Regions from separate parts of the Homo sapiens genome. Here regions 1 and 2 are each linked to region 3. Evidence: promoter capture Hi-C in human tissues and cell types (Jung and others, 2019). All regions are on one chromosome and are shown on one strand. The core of a region is centred on a gene start or on the middle of the fragment in contact, and the rest is flanking DNA. Distances in the headings are between cores, read along the strand shown. Region 1 overlaps PBRM1 (polybromo 1). Region 2 overlaps PARP3 (poly(ADP-ribose) polymerase family member 3). Region 3 holds the start of GLYCTK (glycerate kinase).

The links. The method cuts DNA at HindIII sites, captures the fragments that hold promoters and counts their contacts. A contact is called where the count stands out against the background at its distance.
Region 1: a contact is called between a fragment that was not itself captured here and the fragment with the promoter of GLYCTK in region 3, in 2 of the 25 tissues and cell types used here (aorta and heart right ventricle).
Region 2: a fragment that was not itself captured here is called in contact with the fragment with the promoter of GLYCTK in region 3 in 1 of the 25 tissues and cell types used here (hippocampus).

Annotation. Positions count from the first base shown.
Region 1 is chr3:52,652,151-52,656,207 of GRCh38, reverse strand. All of the region lies in intron 6 of PBRM1 (polybromo 1), which reads left to right. Among named protein-coding and RNA genes, the nearest start is that of PBRM1, 32 kb to the left of the region's middle. The HindIII fragment of the contact is 3,551 bases long and covers 822-4,057 here.
Region 2 is chr3:51,947,386-51,951,953 of GRCh38, reverse strand. PARP3 (poly(ADP-ribose) polymerase family member 3) reads right to left here. Exons shown (of 11, transcript NM_001003931.4): 10 at 4,059-4,214; 11 at 3,087-3,643. The coding sequence ends at 3,474. Among named protein-coding and RNA genes, the nearest start is that of GPR62, 5.7 kb to the left of the region's middle. The HindIII fragment of the contact is 8,892 bases long and covers 1-4,568 here.
Region 3 is chr3:52,285,038-52,289,366 of GRCh38, reverse strand. It overlaps GLYCTK (glycerate kinase), which reads right to left and starts at 1,539. Exons shown (of 5, transcript NM_145262.4): 1 at 1,491-1,539. It overlaps GLYCTK-AS1 (GLYCTK antisense RNA 1), which reads left to right. Exons shown (of 1, transcript NR_046719.1): 1 at 1-787. It overlaps LOC107986086 (a long non-coding RNA gene), which reads left to right and starts at 1,347. Exons shown (of 3, transcript XR_001740699.2): 1 at 1,347-1,534. RefSeq lists enhancers at 1,772-1,881, 708-1,907, 1,213-1,954. The HindIII fragment of the contact is 16,985 bases long and covers 1-4,329 here.

The DNA.
Region 1 (4,057 bases), core at 1,348-3,847, 370 kb before region 3:
CAAGACCTTTAAAAAGTATCAGAATTCTTTATGCCTTTACACCCAAAAGATAATTAACATATAGATTTGACTCACATTAGCCTATGAAACTGCAAACATTTTCATGGCCTCAGCATTCTCATATTTCTAGGTAAGGATATACTTTCAGAAGTACTCCATGGTAGCACTTAGCCCTATTGTGATCATTTACTTTTCTGTCTGCCTTCTTTTCTACTCCCTGAATTTCTTGAGGACAGTGACTGTGCTGTAATTTACCTTTGTATTACTGTCTATAACTGGAACCCGATCCGAAGGATTGGATGACTTTGGATTACTTTGTACCCCATGCTGGGTGGTCATAGATATGCAAGATGCTTGTTGACTGATGAGTAGCATGCAGCTTTCCTCATCAGTCATTGGCAAGACTATAGTTATTTAAAGGTGTGTCTTGACTAGCTATAGGATAGTTACAACATTAGAAATAAAGCAACTGACCACTGCTGTCCTATGTGTGAATCTTACTAGAAAGATGTAATTATTAATATTGGTCATATGACTTAAAACTTTAAGAAAAGGAGAAAACAGTATGATGATTCTCTAGAGAATTAAACATGGAATTACCATATGATCCAGCAGTTCCACTTTAGATATATACTCCAAAGAAAGTGAAAGCAGGGTATTGAAGAGATATTTGTATACCCATATTCATAGCAGCATTATTCACAATAGCTAAAAATGGAAGCAACTCAGGTGTCCATCAGTGAATGAATGTATATGTGACATATACATACAGTGGCATATTATTTGGCGTTAAAAAGGAAGGAAATTCTGAAACATCCTACATGGATGAACTCTAAAGACATTATTTTAAGCAAAATGAGCCAGTCACAAAAGGACAAATACTGTATGATTTCTTATATGAGGTACCTAGAATACTCAAAATCTTAGAGACATAAAGTTAGAATGGTGGTTGCCAGGGGCTGGAGGGAATGGGGAGTTGTTTAATATGTACAGAGTTTCCATTTTGCAAGATTAAAAAGTTCTGGAGGTGGATGTCAGTGATAGTTGCACAGCAGTGTGAGTGTACCTCATGCCACAGAACTGTACACTTAAAAATGGCAAATTTCATGTTACTACATGAAATTTATTTTATTACAGTAAAAAAAATTATAAAAGAAGTACAGGATAGGTGTAGTGACCCACACCTGTAATCCCAGAGCTTTGAGAGGCCAACATAGCTGAGACTCTGTCTCTACAAAAAAAATTTTTTTAATTAGCTAGTCATGGTGGTGTGCACCTGTAGTCACAGCTGTTTGGTGGGGCTGAGTTTGGAGGATCACTTGAGCCTAGGAGTTCAAGGCCGCAGTGAGCTGTGATCATGCCACTTCACTCCAACCTAGGCAACAGAAAGAGACCCCGTCTCTTTTTCTCTCTCTCGCTCTCTGTCAACTCTCATTCACACATGCACACATACACACAAAATAGAAGTACTGTCTTCGCTCAAGATTTATTCTTACCCTGCAGGAGATAATCAGTGATGGTCAAATCAACAACAGTGATATGGGGCAATGAAACATCAATAATTAGTTCCCCCCATTCCCCCTTCAAGGTCACCTTGAAGGAGCTGGTTGGGAAAAGCAGGTTTCTATTGGTCTCTCAGGGTGTGACAGTTTGAAAGACAACAAGGATTGACAGCTGAAGGGGCAGGACAGTTTTCACCTTTCCTTAGTAAGTCCGTCCCAAGCAAGCTGGCTGCATGGGAGAGATAGATTGGGAATTTGTGGGATTGGATGACTTTGAATTACTTTGTACTCCATGCTGGGTGGCCTTGCCATAATTTGTCCTCTGAACTTTCTCTCAGAAGTAGAACTGGTGAAGAGAAGGGGCAGCAATGGAGATTCATCCAAGTAAAGGAAGGAGTAGGGTTAAGAAAGTAGTGGTAAGCTTAGGGGACAGATGAGATAAAACAACACTGAGATAATCTGTTCAGCCCAGTAACTGAGTGAAGGCTGTGGCTTTCTGCTTTTGTTGTTGCTGCGTGGGCTTCAGTAGGGTTTGAACAGGTGGGAAGAGTTGGGAGAGCACAATCTGACTTCCCCTGAACCTCTCCCATCTGATAAGACCAACTTTTGATATTTGGGCAACTTCAGTTATTTCCTCCAAGGAAGAAAATCTGTAGGAAAGCCTGAGTGCAGTGAGTGATTCTAGGTTGTTGTGAAAGCTTCAAGGACATTCCTCAACATGTTCAATTTCTTGGGATGACCTAGTATTTGATAAATCAGAAGTTGCTAATAATTTTGCTTCATTTCTTTTCTTTTTTCAAGACAGTCTTGCTCTGTCACCCAGGCTGGAGTGCAGTGGCGTGATCTCAGCCCACTGCAACCTCTGCCTCCCAGGTTCAAGCGATTCTCCTGCCTCAGCCTCCTGAGTAGCTGGAATTACAGGCACCCGCCACCACACCCAGCTAATTTTTGTATTTTTAGTAGAGACGGGGTTTCACCATATTGGCCAGGCTGGTCTTGAACTCCTGACCTCGTGATCTGCCCGTCTCGGCCTCCCGAAGTGCAGGGATTACAGGCATGAGCCACCATGCCTGACCAGAATTTTGCTTCATTTCTTTCTTTCTTTTTTTTTTTTTTGAGACAGAATTCTGCTCTTCTTGCCCAGGCTGGAGTGCAATGGAGCAATCTCAGCTCACTGCAACCTCCACCTCCCAGGTTCAAGCGATTCTCCTGCCTCAGCCTCCCAAGTAGCTGGGATTACATGCATGCACCAACATACCAGGCTAATTTTGAATTTTTAGTAGAGATGGGGTTTCACCATGTTGGCCAGGCTAGTCTCGAACTCCTGACTTCAGGTGATCCACCCACCTCAGCCTCCCAAAGTGCTGGGATTACAGGCGCGAGCCACCATGCCCAGCCGTGCTTCATTTCTTTAACAAAGTTTCATTCAAAAGGTATTTTGTTTTGAAAAAACTTACTTTGACTGAAATAAGCAGAAGCATCAAGTTAAACATGAAGCTAACAAATTTTGCAACCTGACTTCTTACAGATCCTTATGAAAGTTTATGTGAATATTATATAATAACGTTATTTAGATTGCAAAATTAAAAGAGCTTGTAACAAACTCCTAAAGAGCATTTCTTCTACTTTATTTCTAGGCATAGATATCTTGGGACCTTAAATGAAAAATTGTATAATTCTGTGAATTTAGAATTTTTGTTTGTTTTTTGAGACGGAATCTTGCTCTGTTGCACAGGCTGGAGTACAATGGCGTGATCTCGGCTCACTGCAACCTCCATCTCCTGCGCTCAAGTGATTGCCCTGCCTTAGCCTCCTGAGTAGCTGGGATTACAGGCGCACACCACCATGCCTGGCTAATTTTTGTATTTTTAATGGAGACAGGGTTTCGCTATGTTGGCCAGGTTGGTCTTGAACTTCTGACCTCAAGTGATCCAGCTGCCTCAGCATCCCGAAGTGCTGGGATTACAGGTGTGAGCCACCGCGCCTTGCCGAATTTAGATTATTTATTTTTTTTTTGAGATGGAGTCTTGCTGTGCCGCCCAGGCTGGAGTGCAGTGGCATGATCTCGGCTCGCTGCAACCTCTGCCTCTTGGGTTCAAGCGATTCTCCTCCCTCAGCCTCCAGAGTAGCTGGGACTATAGTTGTATGCCACCATGCCCAGCCAATTTTTTTTCTATTTTTAGTAGAGACAGGGTTTCACCACGTTAGCCAGGATGGTCTCAATCTCCTGACCTCGTGAACCACCCGCCTCGGCCTCCCAAAGTTCTGGGATTACAGGTGTGAGCCACCGTGCCCTGCCTAGAATTTTTTTTTTTTTTTTTGAGACGAAGTCTCTTTCTTGTCCCCCAGGCTGGAGTATAATGGCACGATCTCAGCTCACTGCAATCTCTGCCTCCCAGGTTCAAGCGATCCTCTTGCCTCAGCCTCCTGAGTAGCTGGGATTACAGGTGCCTGCCACCACGCCCGGCTAATTTTTGTATTTTTAGTAGAGATGGGGTTTCACCATGTTGGCCAGGCTGGTCTTGAACTCCTGACCTCAGGTGATCCACCTGCCT
Region 2 (4,568 bases), core at 281-2,780, 340 kb after region 3:
GTGGACTGGGGAACGCGATAGGGAGGGGTGGGGACTGTGGTGGGTTGCAGAGTTCATGCTCCCTTCGACATCATTAATATAAATAAAAAATTAAAACACTTCCTTAGCATGTGTATGTGTGTATGTGTATTGCAAAATTTCCAAAAAACAAAACAAAATAAAAAAAAAAAACACAGGAAGGATATGCCAGAAACTAATGAAACTGGCTCCCTCCAGCAGGTGAGTAGGAATGGAGTGTGGGGGATAGAAGGACTCTTCTGAGCACAGCTTGCATAGAGTGGACCTTTTGGAACTATGTTAATGTTCTACATATTGAAAACAATAAAGTAACAAAGAAGAATGTAGACAGAAATGACTGAGCCTACCTGTATTTCAGACGAATAAAATAACCACACTGAAGAGAAAGAACCAATCCAAGTAACATCTGAACGTGTATTCAAACTGTTACTTTGACCATGGACCCTCAATCTAACGACAAAAAAAAAAAATACTGAGTAAGATCAGATACATCTTGAGCTCTATTTAGAATGTTTGTTTTTCACAGGGTATGGGTATGGCAATTCTGAAACTCCTTTTTGTGCAGGATTGAGCAAATAAGTAGATATATTGATGTTGATAGAAACCCAGGTTCTTACTGTTTAAGAATCGAGGAAATAGGGAATTGGGGAAGAATGGAAGAACTCTGTGGTGTTTGACTGGAACTGGAGAAATAGATATAGAGAGATGTGTTTGCTATTTATTCACACATACATATTCTGTCTCCCCCCTTTTTTTTCCTTTTTTATTTTTTTAGAGACAGGGTCTCAGTCTGTCATCCAGGCTGGAATGTAGTGTTGCAATCATAACTCACTGCAGCCTTGAACTCTTGGGCTCAAGAGATCCTCCGGCTTTGACCTCCCAAAGTGCTGGGATTACAGGTGAGAGCTCCTGCGCCCAGCCACATAGACACATTCCTTAGCTCTCTTTGCTGGAAGGACTTAAAAGCAATGACACCTCAGTACCAAGGAGCACATCTATTGCCCAGATCTTGGATTCTAAACATTTCCTGCTCCAGGAAACCAGGGCTCCTTGGAGAAATGGCTGATTCCCGGTTCGTACGAGATGAACCTGGAACATCTTGTGATGCCAGAGAGAAAGGATGTGCTCAAAAAATGATCGGGACACGGAAGGGACCTTCTGCTGGCCAAATCTGGGACAATTTGAGGATCAAAATAATTGAGGACAGTAATGGATTATAACTCACTGAATAAAATAAAAATCCATGAGTCTACACTGATAATAAAGACAGAAACTAATACAGATAAAAGAAATGATGGAGTTAGATAACTACCATTTGCAACTATCTTAGCAAAAATTGATTCAGGTAGTTGATTTCAGTTAAGTTATCATCGATGGATAAAGCTAGTGGGTGAAAGGTGATGAGGAAAGGGACATTTACACCCAACAATATTTCCCCACAGATTATTGATTAATTACAAAGGGGAGAAATGGTAGCTTCACCGTGGAGAAACATGGCGGACATCACCTTAATGGATGATTAAAATTAATTAACATCACCAAGAATGGGCCATGCCCCTACAGATGGAATTCCCTAGGGCATATCATTTATGTCACATTCCTGCCCATGCAATACCTAAATCTAATCACGACAAAGCATCAGAGAAACCTAAACTGATAGACATTCTATAAAACAACTGGCCTGTATTCTTCAAGAGTGTCAAGAATGTCAAAGTTATAAAATAAAAAAAAGGCTGAGGAGTGTTTTCAGATTAAAGGAGACTAAAGAGACACAACAACTAAATGCAATGTGCAACCCTAGCCTGGATGTTGGCCTCCTCCAGCAATGGCACCCTTTGTCTGTGGATAGGATGACCTGCCTGGTGATCACTGGCATTCCTGCCTGAACAGCCTCCTTTCATGATTGCAGAGCTGTGCCCCTCTGACATATGCTCAGCTTGTTTGTAACATTTAGATTAAGACACAAAGGAGGCTGGGTGCAGTGGCTCACACCTGTAATCCCAGCACTTTGGGAGGCAGAGGAAGGAGGATCACCTGAGCCCTGGAGTTTGAGACCAAACTGGGCAACATGGCAAAACTCTGTCTCTACAAAAAACACAAAAATTAGCCAAGTGTGGTGTCATGTACCTGTAGTCCCAGCTACTCTGGAGGCTGAGGTGGGAGGATCACCTGAGCCTGGGAAGGCTGAGGCTGCAGTGAGCAGTGGTTGTACCACTCCCCTCTAGCCTGGGTGACAGGGTGAGACCCTGCCTCAAAAAAAAAAAAAAAAAAAAAGACACAAAGGGATGTTTGGTGCCAAGACATGAAGAATGCTTGATTCACCTGGCAATGTCTGGGATAAAGGACAGAATCACCAGGTGGGTCCCCAGATGACAAATAGTTCTGAGTAGACAGTGGGGGTCCCCCTTGAAGGCTCAATTAGAGGAAGCAGGTTGTTGCAGTGATGGACCAGGAGGGGCAAGGAGTATGTGCATGATCCACATCAACCCATGTGAGCGCTCGCTCCCTGGAGTGTGGCTGGAGGCCCAGGCCCAGCACAGTTGTGGCACAGACAGGCAGAGGCTGGGGCAAGAGAATACCATGTTTAGTAAAGCTGCTTGCACATGCCTGCAGTTTAGCCTACCTTGGTGACCACATGGCTCCAACATGCAGTCCAGGCCAGGATGGACGGCCTGGGTGGATGTGGGATCCAAGCCACTCTCAGCTGTGCCCCTTGAGTAAGCTGCTGCATCTGTGTCCCTGTAATACGCCCGTACCACACCCATCACTTTAGGAGGCAAGACTCTGGGGCCACAGACACATCAAGGCTAACAGGGATTGGAGGGAAGGGGGATCGATGTCTGGGACACAGGGGAGCCTGGCAAGAAGGGGTGATATGGATCCAGAAACCCCACTACTGGGTATACATCAAAGGGAAATGAAATCAGTATGTTCAAGAGACGTCTGCTTTCCCAGTTCACTGCAGCACTGTTCACAATAGCCAAGATATGGAAGCAGCTTGGTGTCCACTGATAGATGAACGGATAGAGGAAATGTGGTGCATATACATAACAGAGTACCATTCAGCCTTAAAAAAGGAGGAAATCTTGTCATTTATGAAAACATGGGTGAACCCGGTGCACATTATGCTGAGTGAAATAAGCCAGGCACAGAAAGACAAACACTGCATGATCTCACTTACATGTGGAACCTATAAAAGCTGCCCTTATACAAGTAAAGAGTCAAATGCTGGTTACCATGGGCTGGGAGGAGAGGGACTGGGCAGATGTGTCAAAGAATACAAAATTTCAGTTAGGAGGCATAAGTTCAGGGATCTTGTACAGCATGGTGACTATAGTTAACAACAACGTATTGTATTCTTGAAAAAAAGGAGTGATATAGGGGTACCAGAGATGGGCAGGATGATTGAAGATCACAGTCCAGCCTTGCAGGACCCCGGGGGACAGGGCGGGCACTCAGAGGTGGACCTCCAGCAGGTAGCGCAGGCGACACTGGCTCTCCTGGTAGATGAGGTACTCGCTCTGGGAGAATGTGGAGCTGCTGAACTCTGGGCAGGGCACAGGCTGGCCCTGGGGCACCACCACTTGCTGGCCATCCAGCTCCAACTCAGTGTCCTGGGTCGGATCTGCAGGGCACAGCAAGGGCCAGGGTGGCCCAGGGGTCACTGGTCCCAGGCCTTACGAGTAAGTCCTGCCCCCTATGCTCTCCATGTCTGTCACAGGGCACGCCTGCTCATTTCCACCTTGCCCACCTCCAAACCACTGCAGGGGCTGGGGCTTCTGCCTGGGGTGTCCTCCCCGACTTCTCTCTGGGAAACTTGTACTAATCCTTCAATGCTCAGTCAACAACTCCTCTTTTTGAAGCCCTCCGGGATGCCCAGGAATGATGTGTTGAACCAGTGGATGTTTGTCAAATGACAAACTGAGTGACGACAGGGAAGCTTCTTTTTGTCCCTCTTCACAGCCCCCTCCCTGAAAATGTCCCAGCCCCTATCTCGGCCCCACCTCTCTCCTTGGGCTGTACAGCTTCTGAGGACTCACCAGGCTCGGTGTGGCCTCGGGCAATGACACTGTCGAAGCCAGGAGGTGGGCTCTTCAAGCTGGGGTTGTCCGTGTTGATATGGTGCTCTCTGCCCAGGGCCACCTCACCCAGGAACATGTAGCCGACATGGTGGGCCCCACACTTCATGCCAATAACTGCAAGACACAGGGAGGCACCGGTGGGCAGCTCAGCCTGCCTCCTGCTGACCTGTGGGGCCCCTCTCTGCTGCGATGTTATTCCTTCTGGCTTTGCTGCTCCAGCAAGAAAAGGCTCACTCTCCCCCAACCGTCACTCCCTCCTTGTCCCGGCCTGCTCCCTCCCACCTCACTGTGCTCCCTATGGCCAGGCATCTGTACCCTCTGCTGTCCTCACCAAGGTCAGCAATGGCCTCCCAGTGACCAAACCCGTGGCAGGGGCTTTTCTCCCTGGCCTGCTCTGCTGACTTTGCTCCTGACATCATCAGCCCCTACCTGGGACTTCCTCGCGCTGGCTCTCCTAAGCCCTCCACC
Region 3 (4,329 bases), core at 290-2,789:
CCCCACTGGGCAGAGTAAAAGCTAAAGAAGCCTTGGGGCGAAGGTCAGGAAGCTGTAGAGGGGTATAGGAACAACAAAGACCCAAACAGCTCATCTGTACTACATATGTACTATTGCATCTACTTTAATAAATGCCTACCATAAATGTTGCAAGCTGACTTCATCAGCAAGTATGGACTGAGCAGGGTAAGGAGGCTGGGAATTGAGGTTCCAGCTCTACTATAGGCTTTCTGAGTGGCTGGGACACCTCCATTTCTCTCACTGGGCCTCATCCGCAAAATGAGACATGGGGTGAGATTAACACTACGCTCTTCCCTTAACAACCTCAGGCTCTCTGATACTGTCCACTGCAACACAGATCTCAAACACCGGTTTACCCCACACCCAAATATGGTGGTTACTTCTAGACTTTGACCATTTTGCTTGCCTAGTTCTCAGCTCTCCGGTAAGAAAAGACAGCCATGCCTGACTTCTGTTGTGAAAGGGAACACAGAGGGCATCGTCATGGGGATTCCGAAAATGGGTCCAGTTTTGGCCAGGGGGACCCCTGGAGCTTGCCCATTGGACTTGGAGCTAAAAGCATCTTAGCAACTAAGACAGCCGGTCTTTATAGCCTGGATGAAATTTGTATCTATTTCCCAGATGGACAAGAGCCTAGAAGATCCCAGCCTTGCCACTGGGTATGAGCACAGGACAGGGGGACGCTCAATGCTAAGGCTGCCAGAGAAAATACAGGACTTCCGGTTAAATTTGAATTTCAAATAAACAAGTAATTTTTAAAGTATAAGTATGTGCATACAATGTTTAGGACTTAACAATTATTCGTCGTTTATCTTAACTCAAATTTAACTGGACGTGGCCCGGCGCAGTGGCTCACGCCTGTAATCCCAGCACTTTGGAAGGCTGAGGCGGGCGCATCACCTGAGGTCAGGAGTTCGAGACCAGCCTGACCAACGTGGTGAAACCCCGTCTCTTCTAAAAATACAAAAATTAGCCGGGTGTGGTGGGCGCCCGTAATCCCAGCTACTCGGGAGACTGAGGCATGAGAATCATTTGAACAGGGGAGGCGGAGGTTGCAGTGAGCCGAGATCGCGCCACTGCACTCCAGCCTGGGTGACAGAGTGAGATTCTAACTCAAAAAAAATGTAACTGGACGCTTTGCATTTTTATTTGCTAAGTCCTCCAATTCTATCCAAGACACGGTCTCTCCGAAACTCCGGGAGGCTCCAGAGCAAAACAACGGAAATAGGAAGACTACCGGTCTTGACTCCTCCCCGCCATCAAAGAAGGCTGGTACCATTTCCGGCTTTCCCTAGACAGTAGGGGGCCGGAAGTGACGTCATCCTAAGGTAGGGCCTTAGCGAGGGAAATGGCTGCCGCGTAATGCCCGGTGATGCGAGAAAGAAGGGCCTGCTGCCACCAGGACCCGTCATCGCCCAGCCCAGGGACCGCTTCTGAAGGCCATGCGAGCCCTGGCGGCGCAGACTTACCAGCCCACAGCTCCGGCCGCGGTGCCCAGCGCTGGAGAACGGAAGTACTAGGGGGTGGGCGGAGCGGAAGCCGGAAGTGTGGGTGGGTGGAGCGGCGCAGGCGGGTGCGAGCTCTGGCTGAAGCCGGTGTCCGGGAGGGGAGAGTTTAGCATATTGGCTCTTTGCTGGCCACTGACAGACCTGGAAGGAGTCACCTTCAGTCCTCATTTTTTAAATCTCTACATTGAGGGTAATAATCCCCGCCTCACCGATTGCCGATTTTTTTTTTGAGACGGGGTCTCATTCTGTCGCCCAGACTGGAGTGCAGAGTCGCGGTTTCGGCCCAATGCAACCTCCGCCTCCCGGATTCAAGCGATTCTCATGCCTCAGCCTCCCGAGTAGCTGGGATTACAGGCATGTGCCACCACTCCGGGCTAATTTTTGTATTTTTTAGTAGAGACGGGCTTTCGCCATGTTGCCCAGGCTGGTCTCGAACGCCTAACCTCAAGCGATCCACCCACCTCAGCCTCCGAAAGTGATGGGATTACAGACTTCAGCCGCCGCACCCGGCCTCTCCCTTCCTTTATCCTGTACGGTCAGTCAGCAGATGCACCCTGAGTGTCAGGCACTGACTGGGCTGAGCAAACGAACTGAGAATCACTACTTCCCCACAACTCACCCCTTCTGGAGCCAGATTAAGTAATTCCCGCTCCTCTCCATGGCTTTTATTCCACAACTTATTATTGTTCTTCCCTCTCCCACCATGGGCCACCAAATACAGCTCTGGCTTAGCAAGAGTTCCATTCTGCGATCCTCAAGCACATAAGCGGCATGTAAACGCTAATGACTCTGGGCCTACCTCGCTGTCCCTACTCTCATCCGGGGCCTACCCTGTGTTGGCTGGATGCCTTCCCACATTCATAAGATGAGTCCTGATCAGACTCCAAAAATACAAAACAGTTCACTGTTTTTACTGATGTTTTCTTAGGGAGATAGAGGAGAGAGTTGCATCACAAATCACACACTTGATTTCCTAACAATTTTATTGAAACATGTTTCTTGGCAGGGCGCAGTGTTTCACGCCTGTAATCCCAACATTGGGGAGGCCAAGGTGGGCGGATCGCTTGAGCCTAGGAATGCGAGACCAGCCTGGGAACATGGCGAAACTTATCTCTACCAAAAAAAAAAGAGCCAGGTGTGGTGGCATGCTCCTGTAGTCCCAGCTACTCAGGAGGCTGAGATGGGAGGATCACCTGAGCCTGGGAGGTAGAGGCTGCAGTGAACCTTGATCACGCCACTGCACTCCAACCTGGGCCCCTGTCTCAAAAAAAAACCAACAAACAAAAACACATTTCTTTCTCTTGGTTTTGAGGTGGAGTCTTGCTCTGTCACCCAGGCTGGACTGCAATGGCACAGTCTCAGCTCACGGCCACTGCACTGCAGCCTGGGCACGATGTCGGCTCACTGCAACCTCCGCCTCCCAGGTTCAAGCAATTCTCCTGCCTCAGCCTCCCGAATAGCTGGGACTACAGGCGCCCGCCACCACGTCCAGCTAATTTTTGTATTTTTAGTAGAGACAGAGTTTCACCATGTTGGCCAGGCTGGTCTCGAACTCCTGACCTTGTGATCCACCGCCCTTGGCCTCCCAAAGTGCAGGGATTACAGGCGTATAAACAATTACAGGCGCCCGGCCTATATAAACAACCTTCATCTTTCCCCATGCTGGAGAACACTAATTGCCACTGCTTGGTGTCTGTGTTTCCCTGGATGGCTGCCCTCACACTTTATGCTTGAATAAATTCTTTTAACTGGATATCGAACCTTTTGATGATTTTTAGGTTGACATTAGAAATGTGTTTTTGGGACAGGTGCAGTGGCTCATGCCTGCAATCCCAGTACTTTGGGAGGCTGAGGCAGGTGGGATCATTTGAGGTCAGGAGTTCGAGACTGGCCTAACCAATATGGTGAAACCCCATCTCTACTAAAAAATACAAAAATTAGCTGGGCATGGGCCGGGCACAGTGGCTCACACCTGTAATCCTAGCACTTTGGGAGGCTGAGGCAGGTGGATCACCTGAGGTCAGGAGTTCAAGACCAGCCTGGCCAACATGGCGAAACCCCGTCTCTACTAAAAATACAAAAATTAGCTAGGCATGGTGGTGTGTGCCTGTAATCCCAGCTACTGGTGGGGCTGAGGCAGGAGGATTGCTTGAACCTGGGAGGTTGCAGTGAACCGAGATTGCGTGACTGCCCTCCAGCCTGGGTGACAAAGCGAGACTCCGTCTCAAAAAAAAAAAAAAAAAAGATTGTTTATATAGGCAAAAACAGGAGTGCTGACCAGAATTACAACATTTTCCAAAAAAAGGCTAACATAAATACAAGATTTGGTTGGCTACTATTGATTATACTGGAAGGAGTTTGCTTAACATTCTATTGTAAAGAGACAACAATCACAAGGGTCTCTATCTCCCACATCATCTAGTCTAAGTCTGAATGAAGAATAGGGAGCCTGGTTAATGTATAACATTTCAATACAAAGATCAGGAAGCAGCAGTCATGCATCAGAGAAGAAAAAAAAAAAGCAATGCCTGCTCAGTTTCCAGGGCTTCACTTTTCTCCTTCACATTATAAATTGGGAATGTCCTAAAATTTTATTTTCTTTTCACACCCCCTACCTGCTCCCTTTGGCAGTTGCTACATCTCTCCTTAGGTCTCCAAACCATGCTGTGCTCTTGTCATGAACCTTTCCCTTCCTCTGGCCCCCACTTCCAGCTCTCTCCCTGGATTTTTCTTTTTCTTATATATACATATATTTTTATTTGAGACAGGATCTCACTCTGTCACCCAGGTTGGAGTTCAG